2 separate regions of the Homo sapiens genome follow, and region 1 is linked to region 2. Evidence: promoter capture Hi-C in 16 types of primary human blood cells and fetal thymus (Javierre and others, 2016). All regions are on one chromosome and are shown on one strand. Each heading gives the region's core, a stretch centred on a gene start or on the middle of the fragment in contact. The rest is flanking DNA. Distances are from core to core; before and after follow the strand shown.

Region 1 (6,357 bases), core at 3,110-5,609, 300 kb after region 2:
TGTACCATTTTCATCTCTCCTGCCACTGACTCTTTTTCTCAACTGATAAGTGGCCCCAGTCTCTAGGTCCATAAAACAAGCAATCTCATACTTCACTTGAGCTTTTCTCTCCTACTGTTCTCTTCTTTACCTCCACATTTCTTGAAAGAATAATCTATGTTACCCTCTTCCTCATCTCCAAAGTCCTTCTCAACTCACTGCAATCCATATCACTCTAATGAAACATTTTTCTCTCCCCAATATGTAAGCTCTAAGAGGGTTGGGGCTTTTCCTGTGTATTTGTTGTGCAAGTGCTTGACAAAAAGTAGGAGCCCAATAAATATTTGTTCAGTGAATGAATTATTGACGCTTGAAGTTCACCCATGACCAACATTAAATGAGCTAATAGGCACTTGTTTGTCTTCATCTACACAGCTCTTATAGCACTTGCCACTGTTGACTGCTTTACATTTTATTATATATAAACTCCACTCCAGTTAGTCCACTCTTTTTCTTGAAGCTACAAAAACATCCAATTCTGAACACTGAGGCAGGTAGAAATAAGCATCCCTGTTTTTACAGTTGGGGAAATTGAAGCTGAGAGTTGTTTAGAGGCTGGCTCAATGTTAACCAGCTTGCAAGTGAAGGAGGCCGAATGCAATAATAAATTATTCATATTAAGACTAATCTAATTTCTAGCTCTCAAGGAGCGCTGAGTCCATTCTGCTACCAGACTTACAATGATATCCATGAAGAATGGACAAATATAAACATGGAGATAGCCCTCATATCTATTACGTCATTGCTGCTTCAAAATTTAAATTTAAAAATATAATTCTATCCATTGATATTTACTATTTTGCATCAGTGCAGCACTCATGATTATTCCAGAGGCCTGTAAAAGTTAATGCACTTCATTTACCATAAGGAATTGCATAAAAACTGGAGAGAATTGTCAACTAAAAAGTCATATCAATTAGTCAATAACACATTTAATGAGTACTTACAACATTTGAAGCATTGTACTAGACATATTCATCAAATCTGATGTACTAAAAATCTGGTAAGGTCATATGACAAATAAATAATGACTAGTTAGCCAACAATATCAGTATCAGGACGGTAAAACCAAGAGAGTGAGAATTACTTATGCTCTAGAGTTCCAAAGGAAGAACTGGGACTACCCGTGTGTACTGGGCTGCACGGTAGATGAAGAACAGTTTGGGGAAGAGGAGAGATGAGAAGGGTGAGTTTGGGTTTGAGGGAAGGAAGAGCAGGAATAGACAGTCATATTTAAGGACAGACTGTCAATTAACATAGAAGAAAGAAATACCATGCTGAGGACTAGAAAGAAGTAAAAATAGGTTTCTGAGCAGAAGAACTCAATAAAAGTAAAATTTAGGGAAGATTCATTTAGCAGTTGATTGACTTATCCAGAAGATTGAGAGACATTTTAGCAGGTTGCTGCAGTAGTTGATAAGAAGATCTGAGCAGATATGATGGGGTAGAAACAGGAAGAGAGGAGCAGGCACAAAAAGTATTAGGCCTGTAGTCCCAGCTACTTGGGATGCTGAGGCAGAGGACTGCTTGAGCTCAGGAGTTTGAGACCAGCATGGGCAAAAGAGCAAGGCCCTGTCTCTCTAAAACAACAACAACAAAAAGTACTGGAAACTAGGAAAAGAGTTTGATAAGCTATTGGCAATATGGATAGGATAGAGAGAGACATCAAAAATGGCTAAATAAATTCAAATTATTAATATAAAATAAAACCCAAGTATGGCCAGTAACATACATAAAGGATATATATGCCTAATGAGGCTTCTTTGAGAATTCAATATCATTGTCATTTCTCTTTATCAAATTTTACACTGTGACATGCTTATTATGCTTTTTTATGTACCTACCTCTTGAAAAGTATCACTTTTCATGTTTTGAAGTCTTAAATTTGTCAGACGTTGCATGGTTTGCATCTCCACTCCAGTCAGTCCACTTTTCTTCTTTTTCTGAAGAGCAATGTACAATTGATATAACAGCTTTGTTGCCACCCCAGGCTTTTCTGTGATGATGCCATGGGCCACATTCTGATCAAACTGCACACCCAGAAGGTTAAGTGTTGGCTCCAAGCGAGAAAAATTATTAAGTTTGGCACTTGAAACCCTGGACAGTAAAATATTTTACATAATTAGACATTAGCATTAAATTAAAGACAAACAACAAATATCAGACATATTATCATTATCCAATATTTTGAATTATTTCATGTCCTTTTAGCTGTATCATTCCTCTCTAAAACCACTCTAATGTAACTACATTGAGATTTTTTTATTGACCATGTCTACCTGAACTCTATGCATTCATTTCTTTTAAATGGCTACACTAAAATTTTTCTGCTCTAAATTGACAATAGGATTTCTTCAGAAGTAAATACAGAAGTCACAACACCTAAACTTGATATACTGTTCCTAGTATACTATTTCTCAAGAGATTGCATTCAGGTAGTGGCTCTAAATCTTTTGTTTTTGAATCACAGATACCTTTGAAAATCTGACAGCTATGGAACTTTTTTACAGAAAAGGAAACATACATTTATACATACAGACAAAGCGTGTATAACATCATATAGCATGTTTTTGAGCCTCTTACAGTCTAACCTAAAAGCACCCATCTTCCAAAAAGATGTGGCGCTCAGGAAATATAAGAGTGATTTCTAAATATAAATGAGGAGCCAGCACCATGAGATGGCCAATGTCAACAAAAATAGTGATGCAATATCTTGAATTCATGTTCTGATCATGTGGTGTAACTTACTGTCCTGTTTCCTCTGTGTACTAGTAACTCTTTTAACATAAATATTTAGCAAGATATATTTAGTGTATTATGCGGCATCAATCAAACTTCAAATAAAATATTTTAAATTAATAAAAGAGAAAAAGGCCTTGGAGGAGACGAGAAGAGATAATGCATGCTACAAGAAAACCTTCTCAGCATGAGACTAAATATACTTTTTTAAAGGTCTTCTCAGGTCCAGTTTTGCAATCTGTTTCTCCACAAATCATCGTACAGTTGGAGATACAACATTTGTCTAAAATGACTCAGGTAAAGCAGACCATGTTTTGAGGAATATGATTGTGAAAGAAGATAGTCAAATCAATGACATGTGCTTCCATTCTCTAGAAAGGCATCTATCACCCCTTTTGATCTTCCATCACAGTCGTCCTTTCATGCCCTTCCCATTTTAGGAGTCCTGTGTGCTTTGCTCACTACACATAATTGGAAAGATGTGAACTGAGAGCCATCTGTCAGAGCTTTGGTCTGGGTTATAACCTTGGGCTACAGATTTTAGGGGCATGTTAATTCAGGAGGGAGAGTCCAAAAGCAAACATTACCCATTTCCAAATTTTGTCAAAGCTTAGCCCTGCACTCAAGAAAAAGAGAGAAGAGTTTTCTCTTTCTCTCAATTGTATCATGTGGCTCCCAGAATGCAGTTAATAAGCCTGTTAATGTTATACTTCAGTTACCTACTAGGGTTTAAATGTATTTTATGAACTGGCCAAAGTACACAGGTCTAACAATACTTCTCTTTGGAAGCTTATTTCTAATCAATCAAATTTGGGGAACAGAACTTGTGTGTAAATTGGTGGAAGCCTACTCTTGTTAAAGCATGGGTAGAATCAGAATGATAGGATAATCAACAGTTGTTTTTTGAACACAGAAAAACCACTGGGACATCTTTGCTCTGGAGACAGAGCATATGAGGTAAATGATGACCTCTGAGGGACCTCTCTACCAGCAGTCCTTGCTTGCTAAGAGACTACCTATCTCCTTCCCTTCTTGCCATCTGGTGAGGGAATACCTCTTCTTACAGGTAAGTAGTAGCTGCCCTCCGAGAAATTGTCTTGACTATTTACTTTAAAAAAAAAAAACAAATCTTCTCAATTTTCACTATTTGTGAAGGAATAAAAATATTCAAAATCAGGGAATTCTTTCAGAGTTAGATGAGTATTCTTAGAATTAAATTATTTCCAAGATGAATAACTTTAAGTTATTTACAAAATATATTTCCAGTTTACATTTTAAACTAAAGAAACTAAAAGTGTTAGATAAGATCCCCAAATCATGAGCCCTGGCACCAGTTGCCTAAAAATTAGGCTATGACAAAAAAGGGATTATTTTCCCTACCAAATATACCATTACAAAGGTTATGCCCATAAAATTTACTGATCCTTGTCTTATTTAAAAGACCATGTGCCCTGGGGAAAAAATGGGCTGTTCCAAGAATTGAAGATGGATGATATTTGGTTCTCAATACAAGTAGGACCCTCTTCCCACATTAGGGAATGCAATGACTCGTGGTGAGAGAGAAAGTTAGTCCTTTGTAGTATATGACAAGCAGGGCTGTTACAAAGGACACACATCTATCCAAAGGTGGAACAAGAGTATGAAATCTACCCTCTGTTCAGATTGTTAAGCCTTGTCCCTGGCATGAGACTGCTTCATCCAAAATGGGGCTCCTTTTTCCTTGTAAAAAGGCCTTTGTGTTCACGAAGGCCTGCATTTTTACAGTCATTTCCAGCCAGATGGGGACCCTTTTTCCATTTCACAAAAGGCCCTCTGTGGTCCTGCCAATAAGAGCCACTTTGGTACACCTGAAACACTCATCTGCGATCTGGTCAGGATGGTCCTTTAACTTTTCCATGGTTAAGCAGATATACTCCCTGATATCCCTCATTTATTCATTGGAAACAATATTATGAGCCTACTATGGACCAGGACAATGCTTGGAGCACAAAGAATAAACACACGCTGCAACTTTCAGGATCTTCACAATCTAGTTGAGGAGTAAACATTCATTTATCATTCATTAAACGTTGTTTGGGCTCCTTCATGTGGCAGGCACTCTGATAAGAACTGATACATAAATAAATAATTATAACTTGATAATGATAATGTAATAAGGAAAGGGATGTCCAAAGTTTTATTAGAACAAAGAGAAAAGGGAGACTAAATCTACTAAGAAAGTAAAAGAAGAGTTTAGAGAAGGAGTAGATTTTTAGCTGGCATTTCAGAATAAATACAAGTTTCTCATGGTAGAAGTGAAAAAATAACATTAATTTGCAAAGGTGCAAGGCATAACAAAAACATACGATGTGTATGTGGACCACAGAAGCTTTGGTTAGGATTCTCCGTTGATGGGAAATGTGGCTGGAAAGGTAAATGAGGGTCACACCGAGAAGCACCTTATAAGCCATGACCTTGAGAGCAACAGAGAGACTGGAACACTTGAATTTCTTAAGCTGATGGGGATATCATACCTAGAGATATGAGTGTAGAGTTTTAGCTTCATGTTGGGAAGTCTAAACAAGGTCTTTATCTGTAGAATTTACTAGGAAATGTAGACATTCATTAATTTAAAAAACATTGACTGAAAGCTAAATATGCACCAGGCCTATGTTAAGCCCTAGAGATATAAAGAAAAATAACCTAATACCCCTAACCTCATGGTGTTCTGTGCAATGTGAAACACAGATAAAGAAACTGACAACAAAGTGATCAGTGTTATAAAAATTAAATGTGTAGGCTGAGTTTCTCACTTTCATAAAGGGATAGACAGCAACAACAACAAAAGGATTGGACATCTGGTTACGTGCAAGTCATAACACATCAATCTATATGTATAAGAACTCCTGAGAAATCACAAAAAAGAAAATGAGGGCATGGACACTGACCTACCTACCCTGGCATTCTTATACCTTGGAGGGTAATCCAGCTTCTAATGGTGGCAGCAAGGCTAGGTACAGAGGGAGCGAAGGGCTGAGAGGTCAGGAAGAGGGGGCAGCTGGGGCTAACAACGAATTTATATGCCATGTACTTGAGGAAGAGATGTGTGATATGAGATGTAGGTATGGGTTAGGATGTTACCCTGTACACCAGAAGCTCAAGAAATTAGATGGGATTAGCAAAAAAGGGTTTATTTGGTATGACAGTGTAGTTCTAATCCATGGCTTCTTTTGTGTCATACAGTTGCTATATGTACAACTAGGATAATCTGGATTATGAAAGAATAATTCACCTCTAGCATGGAAATATCAGAGGTTCTTTTGCTCAGAAGTCTTATAACACAGGTGCAGCTTCATAAAGGCCTATCATTTCAGACAAACAAAAATAAGAAGTACTTAAGCAGGAAGTATCAGGTTAAAATATTATGAATTTGAAGTACATCTTCGTAAATGGCAGAGTGAGAACCTCCAAAAATCGGTTCCTCCTTAAAGGCAACAATAACACTCATAAAAATTGTAAAAATCAACCTTTTCATAACTCTGGAAATTAGCTAAAGGCTTGTAACAACTCAAGGAGCATTTATTTAAGAAAAGCTGCTTA
Region 2 (6,322 bases), core at 807-3,306:
CTACTGGCAAAGAAGATGCAGGAGAATTTAGAGGTTAAGTGTCCTCAGCTTCATCAGGATCTACCCTACAGGTTTCATTCCGATTTTCAGAATCTCATTCCTTCCTAATCAATTCCCTCAGTTTAGCAGAAGATACTTTGCCTGGTTGGGAATTCAATTTGCACTGTAATTCTGCCACTCTCAGGATGAGACTCCAGATTTGATTTTCTGAAACCTCAGGCTGATGACAATGGGAGATAAGTACGTTCCTCCAGGAAGACATAGAAGGTTTCAGATCATTTATGTGGAGCTTGAACTTGGAATTTCAAGCCCTGAGTTCATCATTTTTCTTTACTTTGTCTACCACAGTTACAAGCAGTCATCCTCATTACATTTATTAGTTTGACTAAAATATTTTAAGCTATCATGATTACCTAGAGATTTGCCATTTATGAATATTTGATTAGGAATCCAGTAGTAATATTTTACAAATCTTTTTACCGTATTACACCATAGACTATCATTGTCTTCTTTACCACTGGAAAGAGTACTTATGCCTTAAAATATAATCAATATTTTATATTGATTGTCAGAAACCCAATACCACAAACCCAGATCCAGTTTTTTGAACTGGTAAAACCCTTGGAATTACACCAGTTGCTAGCAGTGGAAACAAGCAAAAGCATTGCTTAAGTACTCCAGAGATTTTGTTCTTTTTACTTTATTTGACACAACCTGGAGGCAGACTATTGAGGGCTTGCACGGTGGCTCCATCATGCTGTCCGTTGTCCCAATTTTCCTGTTTCTTTTTTATCTTTTCTTAAATTATTGCACCAAACTTACTCTCCAGTAGGTGGCTTTCAAGAAATACTTCATATTTAAATGCCCATGCCCTCATATTTGCTTCTGCATTCACAGATGAAATTAAGTTTCTTCTTAAAAGTTTCAAATGCGTGATATCTTGTGGGTTAAACCACTGAAAAGAAAACATTAGACATCTGAGGTTGCCCTGGAAGAACCACAGTTCTAATTGCTTAATTCTGGGACAATTCTTCAGACAATTCAGATAAAAGGATGAAATAGCTACTATGTATACTCCCTGCAGATATAGCAAAGGACCCAAGCCCTTGTCAAATCCATGAAAGAACTTGCCTAGTAGTCTGCAGAGCTGGGTGCCTGGCATCTATTCCGTTTTGTGAGTTCTTATACTGCAAGGATGTTGCACACAGCCAGGATTATGTTATATACAGAGATGTGTGTGTGTGTGTGTGTGTGTGTGTGTGTGTGTGTGTGTGTGTGTGTCAGAGAGAGAGAGAGAAAGAGAGAGGTGTAAGGTCTGAATCACCACTAATTATACCTGCCTGCTCCTGAAAGCAGGACGTGCAGGAGTGGGAATGACAAGGATAGGGTGGATGTCATAGATACACAATGAAAGAGAGCATAGTGTAGATATTTTCCTCCAAATAAGCCACTAGATTTCTTCTTATCTGGCAAAGTAACTGCTAGGGAACATGTGAAAAACATAAGTAAAAAGAAACAAAAAGAGAAAAGAAGAGAAGAAACCAAGGATGAAAACAGCAGAAATGACATCCTCTGCAAATGCAGAGAAGGAGGGAGAACCTTGAATCACCTATAATTACCCCTGCCTGCTCCCAAGAGTTGTGGTTTTAAGTATCACCTGGCAATGAGGCACCCTAGCAGTAAGCTTTCTGGGGACTACAGAAGGACAGGAAGGTGCTGCCTAAAAGAAAGAAGACAATGTGCTGAATACTACCTTACAAAACATGGGAGACAAGTTTTGATGCTGTTCTAGAAACCAAACCATTGCCAGCAAAACTTCTGGCTGGCTTCTCTCCCAGTGCAAATGGCTTGAGCTTTCACAGTCACTGAGATTTCCTAGGCAACAGGAGTGTAAACTTGAGAAAAGGCAGAACCAGAGTAGAGATTGACAGTGAGCTGAGCCAATCAGGCTGTGAATCTGCAGCAGTGATCCCAGGTCCTCCAATTAATACTAAGAGAGTGGACCAGGGCCCCTGAGGAAGACAGGTAAGAGGGAGGAGGCTAAGGTGGCTTGGGAGGGACCAGTTTTCCTAGATGCAGGAGACAGCGTCCATAGTTTCAGTTCGAAGCAACTGGTGGCAAAAGGTTAGCATTTAAGGTAAATCAATGTTTTTATCTATTCTATGATTTAATGTTTTTTTTTTTCTTGGTATGTCTTAGCTGAGAAAAGAAGACAGTAGATGTTACTCTCTAAAAAGAAAATCTAAAAGTCTTTTGAGAGTTCTTGGACTAGAGAAGCCATCACTAGGCTGTCAGTGCAAGAGGAAAGAGCTTGGTACTGGGAAAGATTTTTGTAATCTTTGCAAAAAAAATGCTTAGATAAAAATGCACAAAAATAAATTTCATTCAGTAAAGGGGAAGGAAGTAAACATTACTGAGCAGTCATTAGGTACTAGGTATTTGAGTGTGAAGGGTTTGGGTGAATTGCTCTAACGATCCTGATGACCACTGATAAAACTGAGCTTCAGGGAGGTTCAGCATTTCCAAGTCACAAAGCAATAAAACATTTCAACTTTCATTCAGACCTTGCTTTGTCTGATACTTAAACTTATGCTATTTCTGCTATACACTGACAACTGAGAATCAGAATAAAAATCAGGATGCTTATTAAAGTGTACATACATGGCTTGTTCAAAATTATATCAAATAGTTGATTTGATTCATCAGAGACTTGAGGGGGTCCTTTACGTTCTCATTAAAGGACAACACCAATGACCCAGGCAGCCATCTCTATTGCCTTCAGTCTGGGGAGTATTTAAACCATATTAAGTAGATGAAATTCTTACCTGTTTTTTTTTTTTGACTTATTTTTTCCTCAAATCCTACAACCACAAAAATCTATTTTGTTATTGAAAGTTTTAAATATTGAGATTTGAATTTCAGGCATACATTTGTATTTATATTCTGATAAAAATTACCCAATAGCAATGACAATGATAAATTCTAATAGCAATAAAATAGCCTCCTGCTAAGCCCTGATGATATGGTGATAGTAAATGCAAAGGATACAGCTCTACCTCGTAAGGACCTTATAGTCTGTCTAGCAGGGCAAGTAATTCGAAAACGAATTACATTGTCTTGCAATGTGAATGCTATTTGGACTTCACCACATGATCATGGAAGGATGGGTGGGACTTCTCTGGGCCAACAGGAAAAAGAAGGTGTACCTGCAAGTGTGACTACATGTACAAAGGCACAGAGATACAGAATGCTATGGTGTGTTTGGGGAATGTGAGTGAGTAGAGATGCAGGATAGATTTTGAACGGATGGAGAATTACTAGAAATGGCTGGAGACATAGGAAAGGCCAATGCATGAATTCAATGCTAAGAACTTTCATTTTACCTGTATGCAATGGGGGACCATCAAAGGGTCTTAAACTATATCATGAAGTTCATGTTTTCATTTTCTAAAGATTGCTCAGTCTTTTGAAAGACAAAGTACAGAGGGCAAAGCTAGGGGCAGGAAACCAACTAGGAGACATTTGCAATGGTGGAAATGAGAAGTGACCATGTCCTAGGCTGAGTCAGTATCCATGGCAATGGAGATGAGGGAATGGAAATGCGGGATGTGTCAAGGTAGTGAAACTCTATAGGACTTAGCTGCTATTTGGATGTAAAGGGTTAGGAAGAGTCTAGGATAATGGTCAGTTAATGACCCAGGTAAATGGTATTGCTGTTTCCTGAAGCAAAGAGTAAGGAAGATAGGTAATGAATTTGGCTCTGGAACATTAAACTGAAAGTGTCTGTAGGTCATCCAAGTGCACATGTTTTGTGAGAAATCTGGCTCCAGAGAGTGCCTACATTGGAATAAAGATTTGTTAGTCATCATTGTATCAGGGGATATGACTGAGATTGCCATAAGATAGTGGAATAGTGAGAAGAGAAAGATAACTGAAGCCTGAGAAACAGCACTTAAGAAGCAGGTGAAGACAAGGAAGAAACAAAATAGGACAGATCCAAGAGGGAGGAGGAGAGACAGGGAGTTAGATTTATAGCCATTGAGAGAAAGGGTGTTAAAAAGGAAGAATGACCAATAGTCAACTAGTTGGAGAAGTGAACTAAGGGCTAATGACTGTTGAAGTTGGCAATCAGGTTAGCAATGACTTATTGAAGAGTATATTTGTTGGAATGACAGGGTGAAGACCATATTGAAATGGACCGAAGTATGAATGGGGCATGAGAAAGTAGAAAATCTGGAAATTCTTTAAAATAGTTTGACTTTGAGGGGTGATAGCTAGAGGGAGTCCAGGACTGAGGGACCACAGCGGATTCATGAACTAAAAGAAGGAGCTGCTGGAGAGGAGGAAAAGGGCATAACTGATGGCTGAGAATCTTAGAGGGGTAGGCCTCTGTGTTGCAGGTAGAGAGGGCATCCTTAGATGGGAGGAAGTTCAGCAATCTCTTGGAGGAGGGAGGAGGGAGGATGAAGTCAGGATGCCCTTAGAGCGCTATACTTTTATAGATTTGGAGGAGGATGATGTGAATTTGTTCATAACTGGTGGTTCCATTTTTTTCTGGGTCTTTCAAGGCAAGGTCTGGAGTGGCAAAAGTTTGGATTAGCCTCTGAGGAGACTGGAATAAGAACCTGACCAACATCATATAAAAGTTGAGTTGTGTGTTGCAGAAGGCCTAGCTGTGGTTAAAGAATAAATACAGTGACACCTGTCCATGCTGGCATGTGGGTTTATTCAGCTGCACTTCAGTCTGCCGTTAAGTACATGGAACATGGGCAAATTGAACCAAGTTAGCTATTATTCTGAGATGGTGGGAGGTTGAAAAATGAGGGTCAAGAAGGGAGGCACTGGTACCAGATGGTCAGAAAGATGCGCAGAGTGTGTAAAATGGATAAGAAAGGAAGTAGATCCAGAAGGGAGAATGAGGTAGGTAATGGCTGGGGTGAAAATGTAGGGCCAAAAGTCTGGAGGTACCATAAGGTCAGAAGCAAGTTGGAATAATGGAACTGAACACTGCAGATAAAGTCAATCTTGAATTTTGAACTTTCAGTCTGGGCACCGTGGCTCATGTCTGTAATCTCAGCATTTTGGAAGGCCAAGGTGGGAGGATTGCTTGAGCTTAGGAGTTCAAGACCAGCCTGGGCAACATAGCAAGATCCTGTCTCTACTAAAAATAAGAAAAAATTAGTTGGGTATTGTGGTGTGCACCTGTAGTCCTAGCTACTCGGGAGGTTTCGGTGGGAGGATCACTTGTGCCCAGGAGATTGAGGCTGCAGTGAGCTATGATGACACCACTGCGCTCCAGCCTGGGCAACAGAGTGAGACCCTGTCTCAGAAAAAAAAAAAAAGAAGTTTGGACTTTCAGAGGAGACCAGATTTGGTTGGGAGGGAATGCCGAGACAACAAACAGATGGAGTTGAGTTGGTAGAAATCAAGGAGCTCCAGGAACTTCATAGCTGCCTGTTGGATGGATTGTCTAGATGAGCTCTGGGTTTTCCCAGATTGATGACACCACTTGAAATGGAGAGTACATCTCTGAGGCAACATTCAGAGTGTCAGTGATTTATAAACTGACAGAACCAAAGAGAAACATAGGAAGTTTGTCCAGCTAGGCTGTGCTTCAAAGAAGGATGTGGATATAGGTCATGATGTGGAGGTGACAGGGTGCATCTTAAAATCTGTGAGGTTCCTTAATACTTAGAATTTGGGGTAAGAGGTGCTTTCATCTGAGAAGACTGCAAGAGGGGTAGGTTTCCTTATGCAAAATCAGATACCATCCAGGATAAAGATATTGTACCAATCAGTGTCTTGGCAGGAAATTGATGGCACATTCAAAGGTAGTAACAGAAAAGAGTTTAATGAAGGACAATTCACAGAAGTGTGGGTAGGAATAAGGAATATAGAGAAAGCATAATGAGACACCCAGCAATGCCACAGTCAGAAGGGACAAGAAAGGTGTTACCCATAGCCTTAAAGGGGCAAAAGGAGGAGTGGTTTTCATATCTCAATCAAAGCATTTCTGTAGGGAGGGCTGCCTTTGGTGAAGGATATGGTCACTGAAAAACTGTGGCTTGGCAGAAAGGAAGCTGGGGAAATAAATACTCCAGCCTCTATCTCCTCCTCTCCTCTGATCTTCTACTGATGCCTCCCAGTGGTGGAATCCAGCTGGAAGCCAGCAAGCAAGGAAGTGTGGTTAACACAGTTTATGGAGGTCGACCTCTTGTAGCACAGATGTGGGTGGGGAATGGATCAGGAGAAGCACACAGGCAAACAATATTCAGCTCAGCAGTGACGATTGCTGTTCAGAAGTTGATCAAGATGAGGAGGC

Evidence for each region. Contacts are between HindIII fragments. The CHiCAGO score rates a contact against its expected background, and 5 or more counts as called.
Region 1: a fragment that was not itself captured here is called in contact with the fragment with the promoter of CAPSL in region 2 in 11 of 17 cell types (naive CD4 T cells, activated CD4 T cells, total CD8 T cells and 8 more); the score reaches 15.8 in naive CD4 T cells.

The regions. Positions count from the first base shown.
Region 1 is chr5:35,637,210-35,643,566 of GRCh38, reverse strand. It overlaps SPEF2 (sperm flagellar 2), which reads right to left. Exons shown (of 37, transcript NM_024867.4): 3 at 1,884-2,136. Among named protein-coding and RNA genes, the nearest start is that of SPEF2, 23 kb to the right of the region's middle. The HindIII fragment of the contact is 1,579 bases long and covers 3,570-5,148 here.
Region 2 is chr5:35,934,356-35,940,677 of GRCh38, reverse strand. It overlaps CAPSL (calcyphosine like), which reads left to right and starts at 2,056. Exons shown (of 5, transcript NM_001042625.2): 1 at 2,056-2,137. CAPSL-DT (CAPSL divergent transcript) reads right to left here and starts at 1,877. Exons shown (of 2, transcript NR_104630.1): 1 at 1,754-1,877; 2 at 685-955. The HindIII fragment of the contact is 5,426 bases long and covers 1,687-6,322 here.